Regions from separate parts of the Homo sapiens genome. Here regions 2, 3 and 4 are each linked to region 1. Evidence: promoter capture Hi-C in 16 types of primary human blood cells and fetal thymus (Javierre and others, 2016). All regions are on one chromosome and are shown on one strand. The core of a region is centred on a gene start or on the middle of the fragment in contact, and the rest is flanking DNA. Distances in the headings are between cores, read along the strand shown.

The links. Contacts are between HindIII fragments. The CHiCAGO score rates a contact against its expected background, and 5 or more counts as called.
Region 2: a contact is called between a fragment that was not itself captured here and the fragment with the promoter of PDE6H in region 1, in 1 of 17 cell types (total CD8 T cells). The highest score is 6.3, in total CD8 T cells.
Region 3: a fragment that was not itself captured here is called in contact with the fragment with the promoter of PDE6H in region 1 in 1 of 17 cell types (total CD8 T cells); the score reaches 6.1 in total CD8 T cells.
Region 4: a fragment that was not itself captured here is called in contact with the fragment with the promoter of PDE6H in region 1 in 2 of 17 cell types (total CD8 T cells and neutrophils); the score reaches 6.1 in total CD8 T cells.

Annotation. Positions count from the first base shown.
Region 1 is chr12:14,969,990-14,976,862 of GRCh38, reverse strand. It overlaps PDE6H (phosphodiesterase 6H), which reads right to left and starts at 3,821. Exons shown (of 4, transcript NM_006205.3): 1 at 3,777-3,821. The HindIII fragment of the contact is 3,244 bases long and covers 2,182-5,425 here.
Region 2 is chr12:14,721,965-14,728,837 of GRCh38, reverse strand. The region is part of intron 5 of GUCY2C-AS1 (GUCY2C antisense RNA 1); the gene reads right to left. Among named protein-coding and RNA genes, the nearest start is that of GUCY2C, 29 kb to the right of the region's middle. RefSeq lists a silencer at 1-166 and an enhancer at 4,688-4,877. The HindIII fragment of the contact is 2,358 bases long and covers 3,894-6,251 here.
Region 3 is chr12:14,741,659-14,748,531 of GRCh38, reverse strand. The region is part of intron 2 of LOC105369669; the gene reads left to right. Among named protein-coding and RNA genes, the nearest start is that of H4C16, 26 kb to the left of the region's middle. The HindIII fragment of the contact is 1,207 bases long and covers 3,070-4,276 here.
Region 4 is chr12:14,826,627-14,833,499 of GRCh38, reverse strand. ART4 (ADP-ribosyltransferase 4 (inactive) (Dombrock blood group)) reads left to right here. Exons shown (of 3, transcript NM_021071.4): 3 at 4,038-6,873. The coding sequence ends at 4,129. Among named protein-coding and RNA genes, the nearest start is that of ART4, 13 kb to the left of the region's middle. The HindIII fragment of the contact is 4,773 bases long and covers 188-4,960 here.

The sequences.
Region 1 (6,873 bases), core at 2,572-5,071:
TGGAAGGAAGATCCTGAAAAGCCCCAGAGAACTCCAAATTGCTTTTGCCTCTTACCCTGAGACAGTCTCCTCTATAAAAACTAGTGTGTGGGGGCTTTGTCTCCATAAGATTCCTTATTTCACCCATTGCAGATTTATGCTAATATTCTTTTTTCTTTTTTTTTAAGAGAGACAAGTTCTTGCTCCATCAGCCAGGCTGTAGTGCAGTGGTGCAATTGCAATCATAGCTCACTACAGCCTCAAACTCCTGGGCTCAAGTGACCCTCCCGCCTCAGCCTCCCGAAGTGCTAGGTTTACAGGCATGACCCATCACACCAGCCTATGCTAATACTGTTAACTGCAAACCTCCCTGACAGTCTTTGGCTCGTGCTAACAATGACTCTCTTTACTGGCCACACTGCATATTCCTGAAACCTCATATTCTATAACTTCCAGTCCATACTGTTTTCTTATTTCCTTGACAATTGGGTTGCAATTATTATCCTCGCCTCCAAGATTTTTCTCTTATTTAAATTCTGATTATTACTAAATTATTACCCTTGCCAGTACCAGGGATGGTGAGATTGGCCAGGACCCTGGACCACCTGCTCATGCTGTGATTCCTTCCTTTATCCCCTACTGGACTAGCTTCATGAGGCTGTCCTTCCAGTCTCAGAACCTACAACAGTGCATGGTGTACAGTAATCATGCCATATATATTATATTTGTCAAATGAGTTAATAAATTAATTTAGAAATTGAACAGGCCAGGCACGGTGGCTCACGCCTGTAATCCCAGCACTTTGGGAGGCCGAGGCGGGCGGATCACGAGGTCAGGAGATCAAGACCATCCTGGCTAACACGGTGAAACCCCATCTCTACTAAAAATACAAAAGATTAGCCAGGTGTGGTGGCGGGCACCTGTAGTCCCAGCTACTTGGGAGGCTGAGGCAGGAGAATGGTGTGAACCCAGGAGGTGGAGTTTGCAGTGAGCTGAGATTGTGCCACTGCACTCCAGCCTGGGCGACAGGGCAAGACCCCGTCTCCAAAAAAAAAAAACAAAAAAAAAAAACAAAAGAAATTGAACAAATACTGTAAACCTTGGTCATGAGATCCTGACCCTTTGACTTCTCCATCAGAGCACAGAGAAGTCATTAGCTTTCAGGCTTTAGGAAATGCACTGCCAGTTCCTCTGCTCACTAAATTCAGTTCCCGTTCTGTGGGCCCTCTCTACCCCCGGTAGACAGGCAAACCTTGTGTCTGTCCCAAGTGTGGTTGGGACCCTGGGAATAGCTGGTGAGCAGCCAAGATCTGCGCTGTGCTCAGAGTGGACCACCAGTAACTGACACATCCCAGCCCTGCCAGAGTCACAGAGGGCAGCTAGAGAATTGCTCTCAGATCAAGGTTTTTGAACTGCCCAGGATTTTCAAGGTAGAAGAAATCAAAAAGTTTCTTTTCTCTCATCTAAAGAATCTATTAGGGTTAGAATTGCCAGATTAAGCCAAAAAAAAAAAAATTACAAGACACCCAGTTCAATTTGAATTACAAAGAAATAATTTTTTTTAGTAAAGTATATCTCAGCTGTTTCATGGTACATATTTATACTTTAAAAAGTCATTTTTTTTCTGGAATTCAAATTGAACTGGCATCCTTCATTTTTATCTGGCAGCCCTAATAAGATCCAATTGAGTTGGATCCAGAGTTCTATAATGTAAGGGCCTAAAGTGACCCTCATTTGTCAAATTGTCCTTTGATGGTAACACGGTAGAGAGTACACTCTTTAGAATCAAACTGATATAGTTTTAAGTTCCTACTCCACAGAACTGGCTACGTGACTTAGGATAAATTTCATAATCCTCTGTGGGTCTTATTCCATCTATAAAATGAATCAAACAAGACCTTCCTTTTAGAGTTATGGGGAAATTTTAGGAAGACAATATAAGTAGAGTGGTACAAAGTGTTCAAAAAGGGCAAATATATGCTAGACCTTCTGAGAGAAAAGAAAGCCATGCAAACAAATCTGTGGTTATGACACTTGTTCACCTGGACTCTGCACCTCCTTCCTCTGGGCCAACTGCTGAAGGGCCCTTGCCATACACCAGAGGGGCAATTATCATCTGCCCTCGCTGGGTAATTCTCTGCTTCCTTCAAACACCCCGACTGTTAACTTATTTCTGGTCTTAAAATTCTGTCTTAAGAAGCTTTCCTTGAATTCCTTTGACACCCCAACAGCAACCCCGAAGAATTTAAAAATCACACGTGACATCCATATTCCCCAATGATACATCCCCTTTTTTCTTGCAAGTTTCTTTTGCATTTTTACATAATTTTGAAGTTACACCTCTAGGCTTAGAAAGTGTTCATGTCTGAGTATGATGCATTATATGAAAGAAGCCTCCTCAGAAAGAGTTACATAACAGTTGCCAGGTTAATCCCTTGATCCTAATGGTGCTCAGGATTTGCACTAGGTAACCGGAACAGTCGACTAATCCCTATGCAGTTTCTGTCATAGATTTACCCTCCAATTCTCTCTGCAAAACCTTTAGGAAGGGTAGAACACCTCTGACCTTTTCCTGCATTGGAAGCCAGTCCTGTTGTCCATAAACATCACCAAAGGCTAACCTCATGCTGACCACACCTTTCTAGAAATTCTAAGGGCATCTGGAGCTGAGTAACCTTAAATGTATTATCAGACTTGATTTTAGCTGAAAGAAGTTTCATATTTTTTCCTCCAAAAGCATTAGGCAATTTATTCTTTTGTGAGCCAGAACATTTTCCTGTATTTAAAGCAATGTTAGCCCTTCCCCTTTTGAAGATTACAAACTGTTTTTCTGCAGAAATAAGTGGATGCAGCAAAGTAATATTTCAAGGCATACTTTTTTAGGGGACTGGGATTAGGGTCAACTTAACAAAGTTAAAGATTTGTATAAAGCAAAAAATCATCTTCTGTTTCTTTATACAGCAAAGCCCAGCTCTATATAGTGACAGAGGATGATCCTCTGAAAAGCAGTTTTAGGAGGTTCCTGAGACAGCTCTCTGATGCTGCTGTTATCACCTTACACTTCCAGTTCTCTTTTTCTCAGCAAAGCTATAGACAGGTAGACCAGTCCATTGTTGGTGGACAAAGAAAGAGGCAGGAAGGAGCTGGGAAGGGAAGTACTGCTGGGGTTGAGCCCATAAATATCACCCAGGGTCCTGCTGAGGCAGAGAAAATCAATAATTTGAAAAGCAAAGCAAGACCCAAACCAAAGCCATAAAAAAAAAATTACCAAAATTCCAGCCAGCACCCTGCTTCAGAATGGAACAAACACTTGACCTCAAAGGGAGAAGGCTCAGCCACCTGCCCTGCCCTGTGGTCATTCTCATGCTCTCAGCTCCCCTTCTCCTTTTCCTCACACTCACACCATCCTGGGCCAAGTTTGCAGGCACATCCTGGGAGTAAAGAACTGTTTTCTCTGTGGTTATTTAGTGCCACAGATTCCTCCTTCTTCAGAAAACTGTTTACTATGAAGCTGCAAACAGGGAGGTCACTATTGGGCTCCTTCTAAATGAATTCAGTAATCAAGTTTTGCAGTGACCTTGTAATAATCAAGTTTCACTTATTTGCTTGTCCCATGGCATAACAAGAAGGTCTGCATGTATCTCCTTCATGTTCTTTCCCATTTTCATCCCCAGCCACAGCCCAGGCCCACAGGTCCAACATGTTTTCTTCTGCAATTTTTCTTTTGGAACCTGATCAACCCCCCAAAGCCCTTCAATTATCCTGCTCAAATTCACCAGAAGTTCAGAAGTACTCACGGAGCTGAATGTTGTTCCTATCAGCTGCCCAGCTGCCTTCTTTGCAAAAGACAAAAGGATCTTTGCATCCTGACTTATCTCTCTGTAATACCCTCATGCTGCCTAATCTCACCGTCATAAGCTCAGAACAGCAACCCAGGTGCAAAGAAGTTAGGAGAACATGGGTTGATGCTGGGACAGGCTTAGGAGTTTTCCAATAATTAGAGGCCCTTTCAAAACTGACTTGGGTTCATTCCAGTCAATAAATAGGTATTGTATTCACAAAAACACAAAAAGTGTTGATATCCAAGGGTAAATTTCAGTTTGTGATTCAATATCTTCTGTCTTTTTTTTATTCTTACCTTTAGATTTCAATACCCCCATTTCTTCCCTTTCTCTGACAAACACACACCTATGTGCGCAATCACACACACACATATACACAGTGACATAATTCTTATGGGGCTCTAGATAACTGGAGAGAAGAGAGGGAGCCACAGTGCCTCCTGCTATACAGGGACATTGAACATGCGGGCAGTGACATTGGGAAACACACAGTATGTCTCCCTAACTGGTATTGTGCGAATTTCCTCAGAGAGATGGAACCTCAGAGTCAAAACTGATATCTGACACAGAAAGGGCCCAAATGACAGCTAGGAATTGTTAACTGAGGACACTTATTTGAGAATCGATTGCTGGATCTTCCGTACCTAAATGTTTCAGGGTGTAGGGTCTAGGGTACAATCCAATTTACTGAGACTCCTTGACTCAGTCTTCCTATTTTATTGATCCACTAGTATTAATTATTAATAGATTAATACTTTTTGTATTTTAAATAGATCTCAACCCATATGGTAGTTATCAGTAAGCTCTTTTGATAAATTTATCATAGAAAGATTAAGTGACCTATTCAAGACTGCAAATAAAATTAATAGTGGAGCCAGGAACAGGGCCCAAATCTGGAAGTACCTTGCATATTCAATTGTCTTTGTGCTGCACTACATCAAAGCAGACAGAGACCAAGATGTCTGTTTGCTGGTCACTTCCATGCCTTGCCAGTGAATTTCAATGTTCTTTCCCCAGTTGTTACCTATTAGAAAATTACACTCCATAACATTACAGAGAAAGAAGGTCAATTTATCCTTTCTAGACAGGGAGAGGTTCTTAACCTGCAGCCCTAAGCAGATTACATGAGCAACTAGACAGCTTGAGAGTCATTCATATGCTCTCCACTGGTCTTTACCAAAATTCCTCTGAGTTTTGAAAGCAATGATTACCTTGCAAAGCCAGGAAAGTGTTTGGTCTCTGGATGAGTCCCTCTGCTCCCTCCTCTGTATCTCCATTACCATTCACATCTTCCTTTACTATTACATACCAGGCACGTTAATGTTCAGATGCTTATCTGTCAAACTTTTACATATTCTCCATTTTCTTGATGAAAGAATACAAATTTTAAGGACAGTGGAAAGTGCCAAAAGCTGAGTGAATGTTCTAGAATGTTGTTACTCAAAGTGCAGCAGCAGCAACACCATCTGTGCACTTGTTAAAAATGCAGGATTTCAGCCCTGCTCCATACTTACCGAATCAGAATCTGCTTTTTAACAAGGTCCAAGGTGATGTGTTTGCATATTAATGTTTGAAAAGTACTGTTCTAGACCCATATGCAAGCTTGGGTTTACCACTTATCTGCTATATGTCACCTCTCTGAGTCTCAGTTTCCTCATATGTAAAATGAATGATTTAGAGTGTTGGGGTTCTCAATTTTTTTCCATCCCAGTACACTTGAGAAAGATAATCTTGCAATTCTCAGATTCTCAATTTTTGAATATGGGGGTGGTTGTGCCATAAGTCTTCTTCCTCCAAAGGAAATCCAGGAGAGAGAAGAGGGAGAGATTAGGAGTGTGGAGAAAGTCTAGGTGTATAGTTTGAAAAATTCTCCTAAAGCCACTCTAATATGGTTCTCAGGGGTTTAGAATTAGAAAATTCTTAAATTACTCTACAGTCTTAAAAATCTATGTTCCTTCTTGTTTTGGACCAAGTAAAGTAGACACATTTCCTCTCATGCCTCTTGCTAAGTACAGCTAAAAATCCTGGATACTATATATGACAGAAATATGGAATATTTCAAAATATTTGAGAGAAGAAAAACCAAAGACAGGCTTTAGATGCGAGGAACAATATGGCAGGAAGTTTCCTGAATTTTCTTTTTGTATATCCGGATGTTGATGCAGGAAAAGACAGTAACCCAAAAACACCAAGAGGAGTGAAAAAACAAAAAACCTCCCCAAAAGCCTGTTTTTTCTAGACAAGTGACCAAGAGAGTAGCAAACTAGCAAGAACAAAAACATTTAAACAAAAACCGCCCTACTCCAGTCAAATACCATGGAAAAAAAACATGACATGACTCAGCAAAGTCTGAGTGGAGAGCCAAGACTTTCATCTTGATTCAGCTACAACGGGGTGACCTTCTTTCTCCCACCCTAGCTGAGTAGCATCAGAGAAAGCCACATTGGGATCTTGGACTTTCACCTCCAACCAGTCATAACGAGGCCACCTTCTTCTCCCTACCAGAGCGGTATCAAAGAAGCCCAAGTGGGAAATTTCATCTCCATTCAGAAATAACACAGCATGTAAAAAAGCATGAAATAAAGATTTTAGAACTGAAAAATAGAATAACCAACATAAAAAACTTAATGGATAGGCTCAAAAACAGAATGGAGAATAAAGAAGAAAGAATCAGTGAACTTGAAGACAGAAAAATAGAAATTACCCAATCTGAACAAAAGACAGAAAATAAACCCACCCCCCCACAAAAAAAATGAATAGAACCTTACAGATCTGTGAGACTAAAGGACCTAATATTTATGTCATCAGCATCTCAGAAGGAAAGGAGAAAAGAGATGAAGCTTAAAAAGTACTTGAAGAAATAATGGCTAAAAATGTTCCAAATGTAGTGCAGGACGTAATTGTGTAACATCAAGAAGGTGGGAAAACCCAGTGGGATAAACTCAAAGAAATCTACACCAAAATACACCATGGCTAAACTTCAGAAAACTAAAGACAAAGAAAAAAAGTAGAAAGCAGTGAAAGAGAAGCAACACCTTATCTGTAAGAAAAA
Region 2 (6,873 bases), core at 3,823-6,322, 250 kb after region 1:
GTGAGCCGAGATCACGCCATTGCACTCCAGCCTGGGCAACAGAGCAAGATGCCGTCTCAAAAAAAAAAAAAACACATATTGTGTATATTTATTTCTCTATTTAAGTAAATTACTATAATTTAATTTAAAGTGTCTGTCTTGGCTGGGCATGGTGGCTCACACCTGTAATCCCAGCACTTTGGGAGGCCGAGGTGGGTGGATCACGAGGCCAGCTGTTCAAGACCAGCCTGGCCAACATAGTGAAACCCCATCTCTACTAAAAATACAAAAAATTAGCTGGGCATGGTGGCAGTTGCCTGTAATCCCAGCTACTCAGGAGGCTGAGGCAGGAGAATCGCTTTAACCCTGGAGGCAGAGATTGCAGTGAGCCGAGATCACACCACTACACTCCAGCCTGGGCGACAGAACAAGACTCTGTCTCAAAAATAATAATAATAATAATAATAATAATAATAAAATAAAGTATCTGCCTTTTCCAGTAAAAACTCTACATCTAGTAAAAGTATTATTTGCCAATCACTAACATAGCAACCTAAACCCTACAGGCTTTTAACATACACTGTATTTGATAATTAATGAACAATCTTACTGGTTGATATAAGTGTATCTGTGTTCTTTCTCACATGCGTATTTATTGTAAATGCTTGAGAATAAGTAAGGCAACCAAATGTAAAATTATTTCAGCACAGTTTTGGAAACCATACAATAGCGAGCCATCAAGAATAGCATTCCTTAATACCACACACCATACATCCCCTTGACATATTTCCCACTTGTGTCATATGCTAAAGAATGAAAATGATAGAAGAGCATAATCTGGCTTAGAAATGATAGATTCTAGGATATTTGAAGGTATTAGTTTATATCTTCACACAAATATTCCAAGTTAATTAAATGTATTATATTAGTTTCTGTCCTCACATGAAAATTTCAATAAAGAGCCACCATGTTTCACTTAAAAAAAGAAGCATCAGTGACTGTATTAATATCAGACAAAGTGGACTTCAGAACATAAAAAAAAACCCCAGAGACAAAGAGGGACACTATGTAATGATAAAGGTCAATCAACCAAGGAGACATATCTATCCTAAATGTGTATGTACCAAATAGCAGAGTTGAAAAATATGTGCAGCAAAGACAAATAGAAATAAAATAAAAAATTGACAAATCCGCAGTTGTAATTGGAAATGTCAATACCTCTCCTTCAATAATTGATAGAACTAGACAGAAAATCGGCAAGGTGATAGATGAATTCAACACCATCAACCAACAGGATTTTATCAACGTTTATAGAACACTCCATCCAACAACAGCAGAAAACATATTCTTTGCAAGTGCTCAAGGAATATGTAATAAGATAGATCATATCCCAGGCCATAAAACAAACCTAAAAATGTTTTTTTTTTAATTTAAATCATACAGAATGTGTTCTCTAACCACTGAGGAATTAAACTAACAATCAATAACAGAAAGATAACAGGAAAACCTCCAAACACTTGGAGACCAAACAACACATTTTATATTGTTCTCTTTCAAAGAAAAAGTTTCAAGGGCAATAAAAATGCATTTAATTGAATGAACACACAACATGCCAAATTTGTAGGCTAAAACCAAAGCATTGCTAAAAAGGAACTTTATACCACTAAATTACATACATTAGAAAAGAGGAATCTCAAAGTATTAATCTAAGCTGTCTTCTCAGAAACACAGAAAAGAAACAGCAAAGTAAACCCAAAGCTAGCAGATGGAAGAAAATAATAAGGATGGGCTGGGAGCAGTGGCCCACACCTGTAATCTCAGTTGTTTGGGGGGCCAAGGTGGGAAGATCACTTGAGACCAGAAGATCAAGACCCGTCCAGGTAACATAGCAAGACCCTACCTCTACAAAAAAGTACAAAAAATTAGCTGGGAAGGGTGGTGCATGCCTGTAGTCCCAGCTACTTGGGAGGCTGAGGTGGGAGGACTGCTTGAGCCTAAGGGTTCAAGGTTGCAATGAGCCATGATTCTACCACTGTACTCCAGCCTGGGCAACAGAGCAAGACCCTGTCTCAAAAAATAACAATAAATAAATAAAATGTATAATTTTTAAAAAAGAAAATAATAAGGATAAGAGCAGAAATAAATGAAAACAGGCAATACAGAAAAATCAATGTGAAAATCATTCTTTGAAAAGGTCAATAAAATTGACAAACCTCTTGAAAAGTTGTTTTAAAAAAGAGAAAAGACACAAATTACCAACATCAAGAATAAAATAGGAGATAGTGCTTCAGACCCTACACACATTAAAAGCATAATAAGGAAACCAATCCATACACATAAATTTGGCAACTTAGATAAAATAGATGAATTTTTATTTTATTCTATTTTATCAAAGATAGAATTATCTTAGATATCAAAATTATCTTAGATAAAATAGAACACAAACTACCAGAACTCACCAAAATGAAATATATGCTGATAGACTGATAAGTATTAAGAAAATTGACTTCGAATTTTTTAAAACTCTCCAAGAAGAAATCTCTTCAGGCTTAGATGGTTTCATTCAAGAATTCTACCAAACATTAAAGAAGAATTAATGCCAACTCTACACAATCTCTTCCAGAAAACAGAAAGGGAGAAAATTTTTTCTCAATTAATTTTATAAATCTAGAATTATCTTGATATCCATACAAGACAAAAACAGCACAAGAAAGAGAGAAATAAAAAAGAAAGAATGAGGAAAAGATATTAACTACAGACCAATATTTCATGAACACAGATAAAAAATCTTTAATAAAATACTAGCAAGTAGAATTTAGCAATATATAAAAAGAATGATAAACAACTACCAAGTGGGGTTTATTTCAGGATACAAGGATGGTTCAATATTGAAAAATCAATTAATATCATTTATCACATCAACAGAAAATTACACAATATTATCAACTGATGCAGAAAAAGCATTTGTTAATATTCACAATTCATTAATGATAAAAATTCTCATAAAATGAGAAAGATGGGGGAAATTTTTTAACTTGACAAATATCATCTACAAAGAAACTACAGCAAACATGATATTTAATGGTGAAAGACTGAATCTTGTGGACCCCAAGATTGAAAATAATGTCTGCTCTCACCAGTTGACTATGTTAGTCAACATAGTCCTGGACATTACAGCCACTGAATAAGGGAAGAAGAAAAATGAAAGGCATATATCTCAGTGAAAACGATATTAAACTGTCCTTACTTACAGATTACATGATCGTTTGTGTAGAAAATTTTAAAGCATCTATGAAAAGGGTCTTGGAACTAATAAGGGAGTTCAGCATGGTCACTGACCCAAGATCAACATATAAAAATTAATTCTATTTCTGTATACCAGCAATAAATATATGAACATCAAAATTTAAAATACAATATCATTTATAATCACTCAAAAAATGAAATACTTAGGTATACATCTAAGAAAATATGTATATTATTTTAATGCTAAAAATTACAAAACAGTGATAAATAAAATCTAGAGACTGTCAGGCCTCTGAGCCCAAGCTAAGCCATCATATCACCTGTGACCTGCACATATACATCCAGATGACCTGAAGCAACTGAAGAACCACAAAAGAAGTGAAAATAGTCAGTTCCTGCCTTAACTGATGACACACCACCACTGTGATTTGTTCCTGCCCCACTCTAACTGATCAATGGACCTTGTGACATTCCTTCTCCTGGACAATGAATCTCAGGAGCTCCCCAGTGAGCACCTTGTGACCCCCACCCCTGCCCGCAAGAGAAAAACCCCCATTAACTGTAATTTTCCACTACCTACCCAAATCCTATAAAACTGCCCCACCCCTACCTCCCTTTGCTGACTCCTTTTTCACTCAGTCCACCTGCACCCAGGAGATTAAAAAGCTTTATTGCTCACACAAAGCCTGTTTGGTGGTCTCTTCACATGGACACACGTAACAGAAACAAATCAGCAAAATGGTGTAATAGGAAGTCACCCACTCATATCCTCTCAAAATTTGTCTGCATTCATCCACAGACAAGTCTCTGTGGTAGGAAGGTAGGAAGGTAGGAAGGTAGGAAGGTAGGAAGCTATGAATCCCTGGTGGAGCCCAAGAGCCAGAAAGACTGTTTTGAGAGTGCAGACCAACAGCCAGGTGGCAGACCTGCTGATCATGCCCCTGGGATTTAAATCTAGAAACAGCCTTGTTTCCCAAAAGGCTTAGGTACAGTCCTGTTTATCCTTGAACCAAAACAATTTGCCAAGGGGTCCAGGAGGAATCATGCACATTAGTACCTTGGCAGAAAGGCTCGTCTGCCCACTGACAACGGTCTTGGAAGTGAATTTGAAAGTTACCTTGTAACTGGGCTCCAGTCCTCCTCATCTGGGATCCCAGCTTATTACTGTTTGTGCAAGAACTCAAGAGAAAGACTCACCAATATCTCACAGTCTAGGGATTACACATGTCAGTCATGTAAGCCTACATGATGGGCACATCAGCCTCCATCCCAAAGCAGATCCTGAGGGGGCCCAATCAACTCCAGCTCCTCAGTCTGGGAACTGTCCCATTTGTGCAGGAAATGACTGTGGGATGTGCACCCACCTGACCTACTGGGGTGAACTCACTGGCCTTGATCTCACAGTGAATTCTGAGGGGAACTAGTCTCAACTTCAGCATCTCCTGAGAACTGCTGGGAGGCTTGCATATCTGGGCCACCAGCCCCCATCCCACAGCAGGTACAGAGGCGGCCCAGGCTCAGCTCCATCTTCTCCTGCTGCAGTTGGGGAACTGGCCTGGAAGCCTCGCCTGTCTGGGCCTATGGGACAGGCTTCCAGACTTGGGTCCCTGGCCAATATTCTCACTCAACTTGGGTACATGCCTTGGATCTTCACCAGGTCCATCTCTGCCAGAGTGCATGCCAACTATGGAACTTTTGTGAAACTGACAACAAATATGGGCTTAGGGCACCCTCTAGTGTCGGAACAGCTGCACTGGTCAGAGTCTTTCATAACAGTCGGCTTGGATAACTGAACAGGCCCACTGAAGAAGCATGGGAACATTTAAAGCCAGACTGTGAAGATTAAAATAAATACCTAATTTTTCGATGTGCAGACATCGAAGTGCAGCCACAATCACCAAGTACAATCGGAATTATGACCTCACTAAACAGGCAAAATAAGGGGCTAGTGACAAATCCCAAAGAGAAGATGTGTGACCTATTAGACAAGGAATTCAAAATAGCAGTGTAAGAAAAAAAATTGCATGGAACCACAAAAGACCCTGAATAGCCAAAGCAATCTTGAGCAAAGAAAAAGAAAGCTGGAGGCATCACAGTAGCTGACTTCAAAATATACTGCAAAACTATTGTAACCAAAACAGCATGGCACTGGAATAAAAAAAAAGAATCACAATGACCAGTGGAATAGAATAGAGAACATAGAAATAAATGCACATATTTACAGCCAACTAATTTTCAATAAAAGTGCCAAGAACACACAATGGGAAAAGGACAGTCTAATAAATGGTGCTTGAAAAACTGGATATATATGCAGAAGAATGAAACTAGATCCTTATCTCACCAACTGCAAAATCAGCTCAAAATAGATTAAAGACTTAAACGTAGCCAGGTGGTGGTGCACATCCATAGACCCAGTTACTCAGGAGGCTGAGGCAGGAGGATCACTTGAGCCCAAGAGTTCAAGGCCAGCCTGGGCAACACAGTGGACATAGTGAGTTCCTATCTCTTAAAAAAAAAAGACTTAAACAAAAGATCCAAAACTACAAGAATAAAATATAGGGTAAATGGGCTGGGTGCAGTGACTCATGCCTGTAATCCCAGCACTCTGGGAGGTCAAGGTGGGTGGATCACTTGAGGTCAGGAGTTTGAGACCAGCCTGGCCAACATGGTGAAACCCCACCTCTACTAAAAATACAAACATTAGTCAGGTGTGATGGTATGTGCTTGTAATCCCAGCTACTTGGGAGGCTGAGGCATGAGAATCACTTGAACCCAGGAGGCGGAGGTTGCAGTGAGCCAAGATCATGTCACTGCACTCCAGCATGGCAGACTCTGTCTCAAAACATCTATCTATCTATCTGTCTGTCTGTCTGTCTATCTATCTATCTATCTATCTATCTATCTATCTATCTCTGGGAAATGGTTCATGGCATTTGTCTGGAGCAAGAATTTTTTTGATAAGACCTCAAAAACACAGGCAACAAAAGCAAAAATAGGTGAATGCAATTACATCAAACTAAAAAGCTTCTGCACAGCAAAGGAAATAGACCAAAGAGAAAGCCTATAGAGTGGGAGAAAATACCTGCAAACTATGCATCTGACAAGGGGTTAATATCTGGATTATACAAAGAACTCAAACAGCCCTACAGCAACCCAAAAAATCCAAAACCCAACTTAAAAATGGGCAAGAAGCCTGAGTAGACATTTCTCCAAAGAAGACATACAGATGACCAAAGGGATATGGAAAATGCTCAGCATCACTAATCAGGGAAATGCAAATCAAAACCACAATGAGATATATTACCTCATCTCAGTTAAAATGGCTTTCATCAAAGAGATAAAAAAATAACAAATGCTGATGCTGATGAGGATGTGGAAAAAGGGGAACTTTAATACACTGTTGGTGGGAATGTAAATTAGTACCAGACATTAGGGAAAACAGTATGGAGGTTTTCTCAAAAAATTAAAAACAGAGCTACCATATGATCTAACAATACTACTACTGGGTATATATCAAAAAATTTAAAAATAGAATTAATATGTCAAGGAAGGGCTGGGCGCGGTGGCTCACACCTGTAATCCCAGCACTTTGGGAGGCCGAGGCGGGCGGATCACGAGGTCAGGAGATCGAGACCATCCTGGCTAAAA
Region 3 (6,873 bases), core at 2,424-4,923, 230 kb after region 1:
CTGTGTCACCCAGGCTGGAGTGCAGTGGCGCAGTCTCAGCTCACTGCAAGCTCCACCTCCCGGGTTCACACCATTCTGCCTCAGCCTCCCGAGTAGCTGAGACTGCCACCATGCCTGGCTAACTTTTTGTATTTTTAGTAGAGATGGGGTTTCACCGTGTTAGCCAGGATGGTCTCGATCTCCTGACCTCATGATCCACCTGCCTCGGCCTCCCAAAGTGCTAGGATTACAGGCGTGAGCCACCGCACCTGGCCTCTTTTTATAATTTAATCTTGATTTTTTTAATCAAAATAAAACATGTATTTAGTCTTAAAAATCCAATTGTTTTACAAAGTGTATAACGAATGACAAAAATGCTGCACCTATCCCTACACCCAGTTTCTGCTCTCCAGATATCAACCAGCTTTTTCTTCTGGTAATTATCACTATATTTCTAAATAACATGTAACAACTGCTACATCTAAACTTTTTAGTTTTGGGTTTCATCTATAAACTTCCTACCACGAAGGAGGAAAAATTATCTCTCTTACATATCCCTCCCTTCTACCTACTCATGAACTTTTCCAACCCCCATCCGTCAAGTCTATTTCAGTTTTTGGTTAAATCAGTATTCAAGTATTTATATTATTATAACTACATGAATATTATTCATAACTGAGCCATATATTTTATGATTAAATTTCTTGTAAAAATTTTTGTTTTCCCTGGAGTTAAAAATTATCGATCATGGTTGATCCTTTAATTCCCCCTACAGAAGTGAAAAATGTTTAATTTTTTTCTGAAGCCTTCTGATTCAGTCTGTATGGGTTGGTCTCTAGGTCTTTCAGAACTTGCATGTCTGAAAGAATTTTTATTCTCCTCTTACAATTGACTGATACTTTGAGTATAAAACATCATTTTTCCTTTGAATTTGAAAACATTTTTCTATTGTCTGCTAGTGTGTTAGTCCATATGCATCACTATAAAGCAATACTTGAGACTGCGTAATTTATAAAGAAAAGACGTTTCATTGCCTCATGGTTTCGCAGACTGTACAGGAAGCATAGTGTTGGTATCTGCTTCTGGTGAGGCCCTCAAGAAGCTTTCAATCATGGCAGAAGGCAAAGGGAAGCAAGCACATCACAGGGGGAGAGAGAGAGCAAGAGAGACAGGGGAAGTGCCACACCCTTTTAAACAACCAGATCTTACCTGAATTGATTACTGCAGGGACAGCACCAAACTATTCATGAGGGATCCACCCACACGACCCAAACATCTCCCACCAGGCCCCACCTCCAACATTGGGGATTACAGTTCAACATGAGATTTAGAGGGGATAAAGGTCTAAACCATATCAGCTAGTTTCCATCAAGCTATTGAGAAATTTAAAGACATTCTGATTTCTAATCCCATGTATTTGACTTTTTACGTCTAAAAGCTTTTAGAATTGTATCTTTCTAGCTGCGCTTTGAAATGCTTCATTGTTTGGTGTAGGTCTTCATTTGTTGTGCAGGGTACTTAGTAGGCCTGTTATTTCTTATTATTTATTTGATAATTTTCTCTGTTTCCTTTCTTCCCTCTTAATAGAAATCTATTATTTATTATTATATTTTATTCATTCTCTGCATTTTTTGCTGTACTATTGGAAGTTTCTTAAGCTTTATCTTTCATCCTAATGGAATTTTTTAATGGCTTTTTATTTTTTTGTGAGATGTTGTTTTGCTCTTTGAATATTGCTTTTTAAATAAACACATAGTTTTTCTTGTTTCAGGGTTGCAATATTATCTCATATCTTTGGGGCTGCTTAGATTTCTTTTTTCAATGCTTCATTGTTGCGGAAAGTCAGGGACCCTGAACGGAGGGACCGGCTGAAGCCATGGCAGAAGAACGTGGATTGTGAAGATTTCATGGACATTTATTAGTTCCCCAAATTAATACTTTTATAATTTCTTACGCCTGTCTTTACTGCAATCTCTAAACATAAATTGTGAAGATTTCATGGACACTTATCACTTCCCCAATCAATACCCTTGTGATTTCCTATGCCTGTCTTTACTTTAATCTCTTAATCCTGTCATCTCGTAAACTGAGGAGGATGTATGTCGCCTCAGGACCCTGTGATGATTGCATTAACTGCACAAATTTTAGAGCATGTGTGTTTGAACAATATGAAATCTGGGCACCTTGAAAAAAGAACAGGATAACAGCAATGTTCAGGGAACAAGAGAGATAACCTTAAACTCTGACTACTGGTGAGCCGGGAGGAACACAGCCATATTTCTCTTCTTTCAAAAGCAAATGGGAGAAATATCATCGCTGAATTCTTTTTCTCAGCAAGGAACATCCCTGAGAAAGAGAATGCACCCCTGAGGGTCGGCCTCTAAAATGGCCCCCTTGGGTGTGGCCGTCTTCTATGGTCAAAACTGTAGGGATGAAATAAGCCCCAGTCTCCCATAGCGCTCCCAGGCTTATTAGGATGAGGAAATTCCCACCTAATAAATTTTGGTCAGACTGGTTGCTCTCAAACCCTATCTCCTGATAAGATGATATCAATGACAATGGTACCCGAAACTTCATTAGCAATTTTAATTTCGCCCCAGTCCTGTGGTCCTGTGATCTCGCCCTGCCTCCATTTGCCTTGTGAGATTCTATTACCTTGTGAAGCACATGATCTCTGTGACCCACACCCTATTCGTACACTCCCTCCCCTTTTGAAAATCACTAATAAAAACTTGCTGGTTTCATGGCTCGGGGGGCATCACGGAACCTACCGATATGTGATGTCTCCCCCAGACACCCAGCTTTAAAATTTCTCTCTTTTGTACTCTGTCCCTTTATTTCTCAACCTGGCTGACGCTTGGGGAAAACAGAAAAGAACCTACGTGACTACAGGGGGCAGGTTCCCCGATACTTCATTATTCTTCTTACACTTTTAATTTTTTGGAGTACTTTTTCTGTATATTTTCTGTATATTTTATATATAGTTTTTTTCTGTGTATTTTATAATGGAGGCTTCCCTCTAATGCCAGATAATATTTAAGCTTCCCATTCATATTTAATAGTGCGGCACTGGAAAGCTGATTGCAAGCTTTGTACTTAAGTTCTACCTGTTGACCAATGACTTTCTCTGTAGGGTAACAGGTAGGGACTTATTTTTAAGTGAATCATTAGCTGCCAGTATCCTTAGGTTTTTTTTTTTTTTTTTTTGCTATGTCAGTTTTCCATGAGAATCCTCTGCCTGTACAATAATAAGTCTACATGTAAACAAACCCAAAGTTGTGGACTGGAGCTTGGGGTCTCATTTTTCAGTGTGTAGGTTTCTAGTCCCTACCCCTTTCAGTTCAGCCTCCTCACCTTTCTGCTGTCCTGAGTGTGAAGGATAGCAGATGTCTATCCTTCACATTGAATCCTCTGATTCAGTGTCTCCAGAGAATAAACCTCCCATCTCTGTTGAGGTAAGGGTGGGCCGCACAGGCTCTAACTGATTCTCAAACCAACTTTAAACCAGACCTTCTGTTTTCAGCCCTATCTGCACAACTACCTTCAGAGGCATCTTGCATTTTTAATTTCTGACACTTTTGGAGTTCCTCAATGCAAGTGGAAGTTGCTTTTTTTGGCTCTCCCCTGAACTTGTAGAGTACATAGTTTTCATCTTTATTCAGTCTTCTAAGTGAATTTTCTCATGTCCATATTCTCTCTAATTTTTCCCAATTTTCTTGCCATCTCTGGTCAGCTGTTATCTTCTCTTTTTTTTCTTTTACAGTTTGTATTTTTTTAATCTATGCATTATCATTTTAGAGAAATAAGGAGAAGCAAAGATAAGCATATACATTTAATCCACTGCACTTAACTAGGAGTTTGTATTTAATAATCCACTTTAATCAGATGTCTACCTAACATTTTATTGAATCTTTTCTGCCTCCTTGCTTTTCAGGTTTTTTTTTTTTCTATTCTTGTATCTACCATGTAGGCTTGCCTATTATCTTCATTTAGCATCCTCAGGCAAAGCTATTTTTTATCATTGCCCTTCCATTGCACTGTGTACAATGCTGCTCTTGCTGCCTTGAGTACATATTGATGTAGTACAAATATGTGGATGGATGGCTGTCTTCTGTTTCTCTGGGTGGGGAATTTTTCTACACCCAGGGTCCAACATGGGGCCCGCTACTGACTCATGTTCCTTAAACTTTATTGAATGAAAAAAAAATGCCTCAGAAAATTTAATGGGAAACTCAATGCAAAGACCTGAATGTCCATGGGCCAGTCAAGCTATATTCAGTATCAGGATTTAGAAGCTTCAGAGATCATCTATTTAAACTACTTTGTTTTACAAATGAGAAAACTAAAGCCTAAATGAGGAAAATAAAACTTATTATATGGTATATAGCAGGGACTTTAATTCACATTTTCTAAGATCCTCACCCACAGATATTTCTTCCACAATCTATTTCTTTAAGCAATGACATTTTGATAACCAGAAGTCAGCATATTAATGGCTCTATTGTAAACAATACATTTTGTTTTTGTTACTGAATCTAATTACGTTTGTGAAACATGATACAGATAGCTGTGTACAAAACAAACTGAGGTTAGGAAACTTCAGCAAACCAGATAAAAGGCTGATGTTGGAAACCATGTGAAATGATAAAGATCTGAACTAAGATGGCATATGGAGAAAAATATTGATGGGATATATCAAAAAGCAGAAGAGAGAGATGCATTAAATAATAGGCAGGATAAGGAGGATGTTTGTACCATTTTCAACAATAGGGTGAGTGACACAACAGGAGAACCGTCATCTCAGACAACCACTGCCATTTTAAGTTCCAGCTCCCTTTCTAGCCTCATGCATTTCAAGGAAATCACTTCCCTTCTAATAAGGAGCAGCCAGAAAGAGCAGACAGTAAAACAAAGATAAGACAGCTCCGGCACAGGAGGAAGTGGGGGGAAAGTCTCTGCCAAACTTCACCCTCATACAATGGGCCCCGGTAAAACAGTGGGCCTTAAAAAGCTCATTCCTTTCCCTTCAGGTGCACTAAGAGGCAAGCTAAAAGCAGACTTGGGGGGTATGCCTGCAGCTGCAGGAAGATGTATGGGAACAGTCATGAAACTCTCCCTCCCAGATAAGCACAATAAAGACACAGAAGCAGTCCAAGCCTCTGATAAACTCTCCCACCCTGAATCCTTAAAAACTCTTACTTAGTCTGTAAGAGAGCAGGCTCTGACCTAACTCAGCCAGAAGCCCCTCTCAGGTTTGTTTTCTCTAAAATAAACCTGTCCTTGGCTGTCGAGCCACCTTTCATGTTTCTTTCCTCTTTAATTCTTACAGAGAGGATTTTATATAATATTATTGCAAAATAATTGGCCTTTTTTCCATGGAACCACATATACTGATTCAGAATTCATTCTCTAACAAAAATAAATCAGTGGATAATAATGAAAGTTCAGCACTACACTTAGTTAAAATGTTTCTCTAGAAGAAATAGCCTTTTTGAAAAGTATAAGCCCTGATTCCTCAGTGTGGATTCTTTGCGATATCTCATTTTAACCTCTTAACTAGTAATCTGGTTTCAAATAAGATGTGCTACAGTCCCTACCTTGGGCTCATAAGACCACAGACTTTTCCATAAAAAGAGATGAAAGGGAGATATGTGGCCATCACCACTTACAGGTGTACAAAATGTTTAACTCTCTGCAAAGGTCAGTCTTCAGTAAAACGTTACCAGGTGGTGCACTTGTAGAAGTTCCTGATTCCTCTGCTTCCAGATTTGGGCAGGGACTTTAATTCACGTTTTCTAAGATACCCACAGATCTTTCTTCCACACTGTATTTCTTTATTTTAAGCAATGACATTTCAATAAGCAGAATTCAGCAAATTCATGGCCATATTGTAAACAATACATTTTGTTTTTGTTATTGAATCTAATTACATTTGTGAAAAGTGATACAGATATCTGTGTACAAAACAAACTGGGGTTAGGAGACTTTAGCAAACCAGACAAATGGCTGCTAGGCTCATAAAACGTTAGACTTTTCCATATCAAGGGATGAAAAGGAGATATGAGGCCATCACCACTTCCAGGTGTACAAAATGTTTAACTCTCTGCAAAGGTCAGTCTTTGGTAAAATGTTACCAGGTAATGAAAATTTTGGTGAGTATATCTCTTATATTCCCTTTTCTTCCACATATTCGAGGGCATGCTGAGAAATTCATCCTTTCTTGGTTTTCATTTTGTATCTTTTCTATTTTTCCTCCTACCTCCCAGGTTATTCCTCTTCAGTCTCTTCTACAAGATCCTTGTCCTCTGCCCTACTTTAATTTTATTTATTTTGTTTTGTTTTGTTTTGAGACAGAGTCTCTCTCTGTCGCCCAGGCTGGAGTTCAGTGGCATGATACTGACTCACTGCAACATCCACCTCTCTGGCTCAAGCAATTCTCCTGCCTCAGCCTGCCAAGTAGCTGGGACTACAAGGACCTACTACCATACCTGGCTAATTTTTTTGTATTTTTAATAGAGATGGGGTTTCACCATGTTTGCAAGGCTGGTCTTGAACTCCTAACCCCAGGTGATCTGCCCGCCTTGGCCTCCCAAAGTTCTAGGATTACAGGCTTGCCTTCCTTTTAGATGCCAGGGTGTCCTGATTGTCTTTCTCAGTGAGCTGTCTCTTTATTATATTGTGTCTCAACACATTCCCTGGGTAATCTCACACCTTTCCATGGCTCCACCTACTACTACCTCTTACCTATGGACTCCAAGTCTCTGTTGAGAATTCAGACCAATCTCCTTAGCTCCAAACCTGGATTTTCTACCAAATATTATCTCCTCTAAAATTTCCACGGTCACCTACTCCTCAACATGTTTAAAATTGAATAATTTTCTCACAGATTTAATT
Region 4 (6,873 bases), core at 1,325-3,824, 140 kb after region 1:
AATGCTGAGATTCAGAGAGCTTAAGGGATTTGCGTAAAATTATTCATAGTTTACAAATGACAAAAATAGGATCCTTCCCCATGTTTTCTAATAAGAATTCCAGGACAATATTCTCCATAGACTGGTTTCAGGGGATTCATCCATTCTTCAACAAATATAGCTGAGAAACTACCGTTAGTTTTAAGCTTCTTGACTATGACTGTTTACATTATAAATCAGTTCACACACACATAAATATGCAAATACACACATATTCATAAAATACAACAGTTACCCTTTTCATAGGCAGTGTTAATGCTAGTGTTTCTATTCTAACTTATTTTATTACATTATTAAACAATGATGGCTATGACCTCCTAAGCTGATGTCACAACCCATCAATTGATCACATTCTCCAATTTTAAAAATCCTGTAAAAAGGTAAAGAGAAAATTAAAAACTTTGAAGAGATAGTTGAATAGAAAACTAAAGACAACTACAAAAGTAAAAAAAATGTGAGGTATCCTCAAATAAAACTTTAGTTTGTAATTAATGCACAGCTGTCTTTCATTTATTTTCCTAAATATATGGTCCATGTAACAACAATAATAATAATAATGCCAGGTAGAAATGATAATGGCCATAAAAGAGGTAGAGAAAAAGTATCAACAGAGTTAGTTACTTTAACCTGACATAATAAAATCAAAAGGAAGCTATTTTTAACATCCTAATTATTATAAAGAGGACTTATGAATTTTTTTGAAGAATGACTATGATTGCAAGACAGTAGTGTCTATGTGTTTGTCTCTTATTTGGGTATCATCATAATAGCAGCTATTATTCATTCATTCAACAAATCAGTATTTATTGGTCACTTGTTATTTGCTAGGCACTATCCTAGGTGCAGGGAAGGAAATAGGTGAAAATCCCTGCCCTTGGGGATTTACATTCTATTGATGTGAGGCAGAAATAAACAAAATAAATAAGTAAATTATGTCGTAGTTAGTAGGTGGTACATACTAAGATGAAAAATAAAGCAGAGTAAGGAGACAGTGAACACTATGGGAAGGAGTGGCAATATTAAACTGGGTGATCAGGGGAAACTTCACTGAGAGGGTGACATTTGAGCCAAGGTTGAAAGGAGATGAGAGAGCCAGTCCCATGTATATCTGAGGAAAGAGCATTCCAGGAAGAAAGCACAGCAAGTGCAAATGTCTCAAGTAAGAAGCAACAGCAAGGATGCCAGTGTACGGGAATGAGAGAAAAATAATAGAAAGCGAAGACAGAAGATGATGTAGATTCGATCACATAGGACCTTGAAGGCAGTTGTAAGGACTTTGGCTTTTCCTCTTAGATAGGATACCACTGAGAGGTTTTGGGCAGAAAACATAGAAGATTGTGTCAAAACTGACCTAGCAGCCCAGTAGAGGATAAACTGTAATGAGGTAAGCAGAGAAACCAAGTAGGGGGCTATTTCAATCATTCAGTTGAGAGATGAAGGTGGTAGAGTGGAGGCAGTAAGGTTTGACCAGATTCAGAGCCAAAAGGAGGTCCTGACACACTGGAAGTGAAAAGTGAGGGAAAAAGAAGAGTGAAGAATGACTCCAAGGTTTGGCTAGAGTAACTGAAAGGATGGAGGTGGCACTCACTGAGATGGAGAAGCCTGGGGATGGAGTAGATTTAAGAGCAGGAGTTTGGTATTTGACATGTTATATCTGAGCTGTGCAATAGTAACCCAAGCAGAGATGTTGAGTGGACAGTTGATGCACAAGTGTAGAATTCCGAGTGACCCAGGATGGAAAGATAAATTTGAGGTCAGTGGGTTATGGGTGGTATTTAAAGCCAAGAGACTGGATGAGCTCCCCACAAAGGTGTATAAATAAAGGAGAGAAAATGTCCAAGGATCAAACCTCAGGACACTCCCATTTTAAAAGGTCAAGTACAAAGAAGATGGAGAGGCCAGGTGTGATGGCTCACACCTATAATCCCAGCACTCTGGGAGGCCGAGGTAGGTGGACTGCTTGAGCTCAGGAGTTCGAGACCAGCCTGGGCAATGTGGTAAAACCCCGTCTCTACCAAAAATACAAAAAAAAAATAGCCAGGCATGGTGGTGTGCACCTGTAGACCCAGCTACTTGGGAGGCTGAGGTGGAAGAATCACTTGAGCTGATGTTGCAGTGAGCAGAGATCACACTGCTGTACTCTAGCCTGGGTGACAGAGCAAGACCCATCTCAAAAAAAAAAAAAAAAATGGAGAAGGAATGGCCAGTGAGGGAGGAGAAAATTGATAGAGTTGGTGTCCTAAGAGCAAAATGAAGAGTAAGTATCAAGGAGGATGGAGTGATTCACTACCATAAATATGGTTGATAGGTCAAATACAGTGAGGACTGAGAATTGACATTACATTCCAGGAAGCTCAACATATAATCTCTTAAATCAGACTCTCTAGGTTAAATACTGGCTCTGTCACTTACTGTGTGGCCTAACAGAGACCCTTAAGCTCTCTAAATACTGGGAAAGGGTGGGACTGGAAATCCTTGTGATCTTTAGCCTCAGTGAAGAGGAAAAAAAAACAAAAATCGTTTGAGAACCATTCTAATGATTGACCTGCTAAAGTGGTATTAAGGCTTCCTAAGTCTCTGTAGGGATTCATATAATTTGATTTTAACACAAACTTTGACAAAAGTTTAGAAAGACATATGCTCTTAATTTTCCTTGCCAACTCTTATTGGTGAAAATTGAGGTCTTGAAAATTACTGTATCTACTCCAGCTTGGTGACAGAGTGAGAACTCCAACTCAAAAAAATAAGACAGAAATTACTGTATATATATATATATATATATATATATATATATATATATATATATATATACATACATACAGTACACACATACACACACAGAGTAATTTCTGTCTTTTCTGTCTTGGAATTTCTACTTGTATACACACACACACACACACACACACACACACACACACACACACTCCTATATAGAAATTCCAAAAAACTAAAAAATGTATATATTGTGTGAAAATAGTAGAAATGTATTTCTCCCTCATCTGGTTATCCTATCAAACAATATGAGCAAATATTGAGGCAATTAGAGTTGAATCTCTTCCTCCCAGAAACATCTTTTCTACCTTAAACAATAGTGAAAACTGGCTGCAAAGAGATTCCAGTCTTTATTTAGACTATTTTTTACAGGGTTTCCATCTCCCATCTCATTTCAGTCCCCACCCCATTATATGGCCAATTATTAGTTATATCTGACAATATTTTTTTTTATTTTCCAGTTTTGCTTCCACACCTAACTGGCTGCTAACCTGTCCCACATTTCCTGTGAAAGGTGTATATGTGTAGTTAGAACACACACACACACACACACACACACACACACACACTCCAAACAGGATTGTGTGAATATTTCTTGCTCACCTTGTAATGAAAAATTCTATGGATGGACATGTAATACACAGACAAACAGGTTAGTGGTTAAGAATGCAGAATTGAGACAAACTGGCCAAGTTTGAATGGTGCCTATACTATTTACAAGATGTGTGACACTGGCAAGTTTTTTCTCATCTCTGTGTCACAATCTCATCAAGTAAAAACCAAGGATATTGAGAATAAAAATCTCATAGGTTTGTTGTGAGGCTTAAGTTAATATATAGCAAGGGCTCGAAATAGATCCTAGCACAAAATCAGCATTCAGTCTGTGTTAACTTTCATAATGGTGATGAAGATGATGATAATTAAGATGGGGATAATGCTAACAGTGATTATGCTGCTGGTGATGATAAAGATGGAAAATTAGATCTCTACCACCAGCTGGCTGGGTTACCTGGGAGTACATCTTTTAACCTCTTGGTGTCTGTTTCATCATCTGCAAAATAAGCAAGTTATGTTAGAAAAATCTAAAATAATGTGTTTTAAGTAGCTAACTTCAAATGTTTTTATTAGGAATTTTCTAAGTTAAGTAAGTGGATCAATGGATAGATGAGGTAGTTTTAAAAAAAACTCTGCTACCTAAAATATTTCCTTTGTTTTGTTTTTTACAGCTTCCAGCAAGAAATGCATCCCTGATCCTATAGCTATTGCATCTCTCTCCTTTTTGACCAGTGTCATCATCTTTTCCAAAAGCAGAGTATAAAGAAATCTTGTGGCTCCTTTTATTTAAAAAAAATATTTAAATAAAATCTTTTTTATTGGCCTTTTGGCTAGAAATGGACATTTATTTTCCAGGAAGGATGATCCCATCATACTTCTGCTGAAACCAGTGCATGGCCTCCTCTTTGCTAATTCTCTTATGCCTTTCCTTGTACCCCTTTGCCTTATTTCAATCTGGGCACCCTAAGTACTCTTGGGGAAATCACTCTGCCCAGCTAGCAACTGATGCAGAGCTGGCTCAGCCCACTGACTGTGATTGGCCTGTAACTCAGGCCTTAGCCAATCAGTATATTTCTTCTTCATGGACACAAAGATTCATGCTGGAATAGAAAATGATCCAATCAGAGCCTGTGAGATACAATCAGGGTACTTTTGTGGAATTGCAATTGGAAATAGAATGGGAGCTTCTTTTCTGAATGGATATTAATGAAAGCAGGGTAGGAGCTTATAGCTGCCAGCAAAGATCCCGCCACCAGGAGAGGAGACCCCATCTCCTTGAGAAAGGATCTAACACAACAAAGGAAGAGCTGATAAGTGAAAAGAAACTGAGACCTGATGAGAATGTATAAGCCTCTGGATCCAACTTTGCCTAAAGCTGAATACTACAAGATTTTTCATTACATAAATCAATAATTTATGTTTTTGCTTGCATAATTTGAATTAGATTTTCTATGTCAAGCATCAAGCAGTTGAAGTTCCAACGAATACAAGCACTCTTCCTTATTTTTTTTAATTTAGTTATTCTAAATAGGAACAAATCAAAGAAGATTAAATTAGAAAGCAAAGGACAAATTCTTCACCAAACAGAAAAGCTTTGAACCCCAGAGATTAACCAAGGTGTGAATTTTCTTCAGAGATTTTTTATGAGCATTCAAGATTAAGCTAGTATGGCCTCAGATGAGAAGACACATGGAAACTTGAGAAATAAAAGGGAAAGTTAATGAAAGATGTTAGTGAAATTTCATTCACCAGCAGTAATGGGTGTTCATGCATGTTCCTAAGACATTACAAAAGTTAAAATTTAAACTCATATGTTAATTCATAGAGAACTTGATGGCAAATTTAAGTCTTCATAGCAAATTTAAATATTAGGAAAACATGAGGGTATGTGTGAAGGTTAACAGAGAGTATGAGAGAAAAAAACACTGATTACAAACAAATATCAGCAATATAGCGAGGTCTCATTACATGTAAACTAGTACATGCAAAGAAGTATAAATTGTTGAATTGTATAGCTGGAAATGTCCTCTAACGCTTCCCTCAGGTAGTAATTTAGGTAGCGACATAAGGGATTATTTAACCCGATCACGATCACTGAAGACCCTGGTATCAGGCTAAATGGAGTAAAGATGAGGGCTAGCTCTATAATTTTGGATTTTGAAAGTCCATGCTCCTTATCCCTTTTAAGATTTGGATAAGAAACAGCAAAACTGAAAATCGGTCCATCTATTTACTCTCCATAGGACTTCCTGAATGGCCTGTGTCATGATCAAAGAAATGGAATGGGGAATAAGCTACATAAAATTACCTGGCAGGGAGTTCAGGCATCTCTGTACTATCATTCTTTAAATTGGGATTTGAAACTAACAGGGCCAAATCACCTCTGTCACCTAGTTGCAGTAGCCTCTACAGTCAATAAAGGAAAGAATTTCTGCCAGGCATGGTGGCTCACCCCTGTAATCCCAGCACTTTGGGAGGCCGAGGAGGACGGATCACGAGGTCAGGAGTTCAAGACCAGCCTGGCCAGCATGGTGAAACCCCGTCTCTACTACAAATACAAAAATTAGCCAGGCATGGTGGCACGCACCTGTAATCCCAGCTACTTGGGAGGCTGAGGCAGGAAAATTGCCTAAACCCAGGAGGCGGAGGTAGTGCAGTGAGCCAAGTTCACACCACTGCACTCCAGCCTGGGCAACAGAGTGAGACTCGATCTCAAAAAAAGAAAAAAAGAAAGAATTTCTACAAACAGACAATTTATGTGACTTGCATAGGATAGGGTCTTTGGCAGTTTGGTGGCTACCTAGTAGAGAGTCCTGGGGACATGGCTCTGGGAGCAAGCTTTTCCAGTGAGCATCGATGAGTCAGTAATGACATGCTATGTTGGTAAAAGCCACCCAACATCTTAAGTACATTTTTCCTGTGCCATATAAATGCATGTATTGAGCCATACTGTGTACAAAGCACTTTGGGGATTAAAAGTTAAGAACACTAGGCCAGATCTCTCATGAGTTTACAATCTCTTAGGAGAAATTAAGAACATAAAGCAAGCCACAAGTGAAATGCCAAAAAAAAAAAAGGCAAAAATCAAGTTTTCTGTTCATAACAATTCAAAAGAAAGATTTCTTCCAACTGAGGCAAGAAGAGACACCCGGAAGGCTTTAAGTAAGAGGCTGCATTTGAACCAGCCGTTAGGGCTCTAGGCTGGGAGAAGGGGTGAGCAGAAGGAGAAAAAAACAAGAAAGAGTATGTGCCAAGTGCGTAGTGCCCAAAACAAGGCCAAATATTAAATGCTTGGAGCTGAGAGAAAAATGTGATTCCTCTGGCCTATGGTTAGATAAAGCTTTCTATCAGAGATGATGTTTTACTTAGAGGAAAGCAGAAAATAGAAGCGAATACGGAATGATCGATGTATGTACAGCATAAGGTCAGGGAGCAGATAGGTCTGGCAGAGAGTGAGGGGTAATGTGGGCTGGAGAGGAAATTGGAAGCCACTCAGTGAAGCTAAAA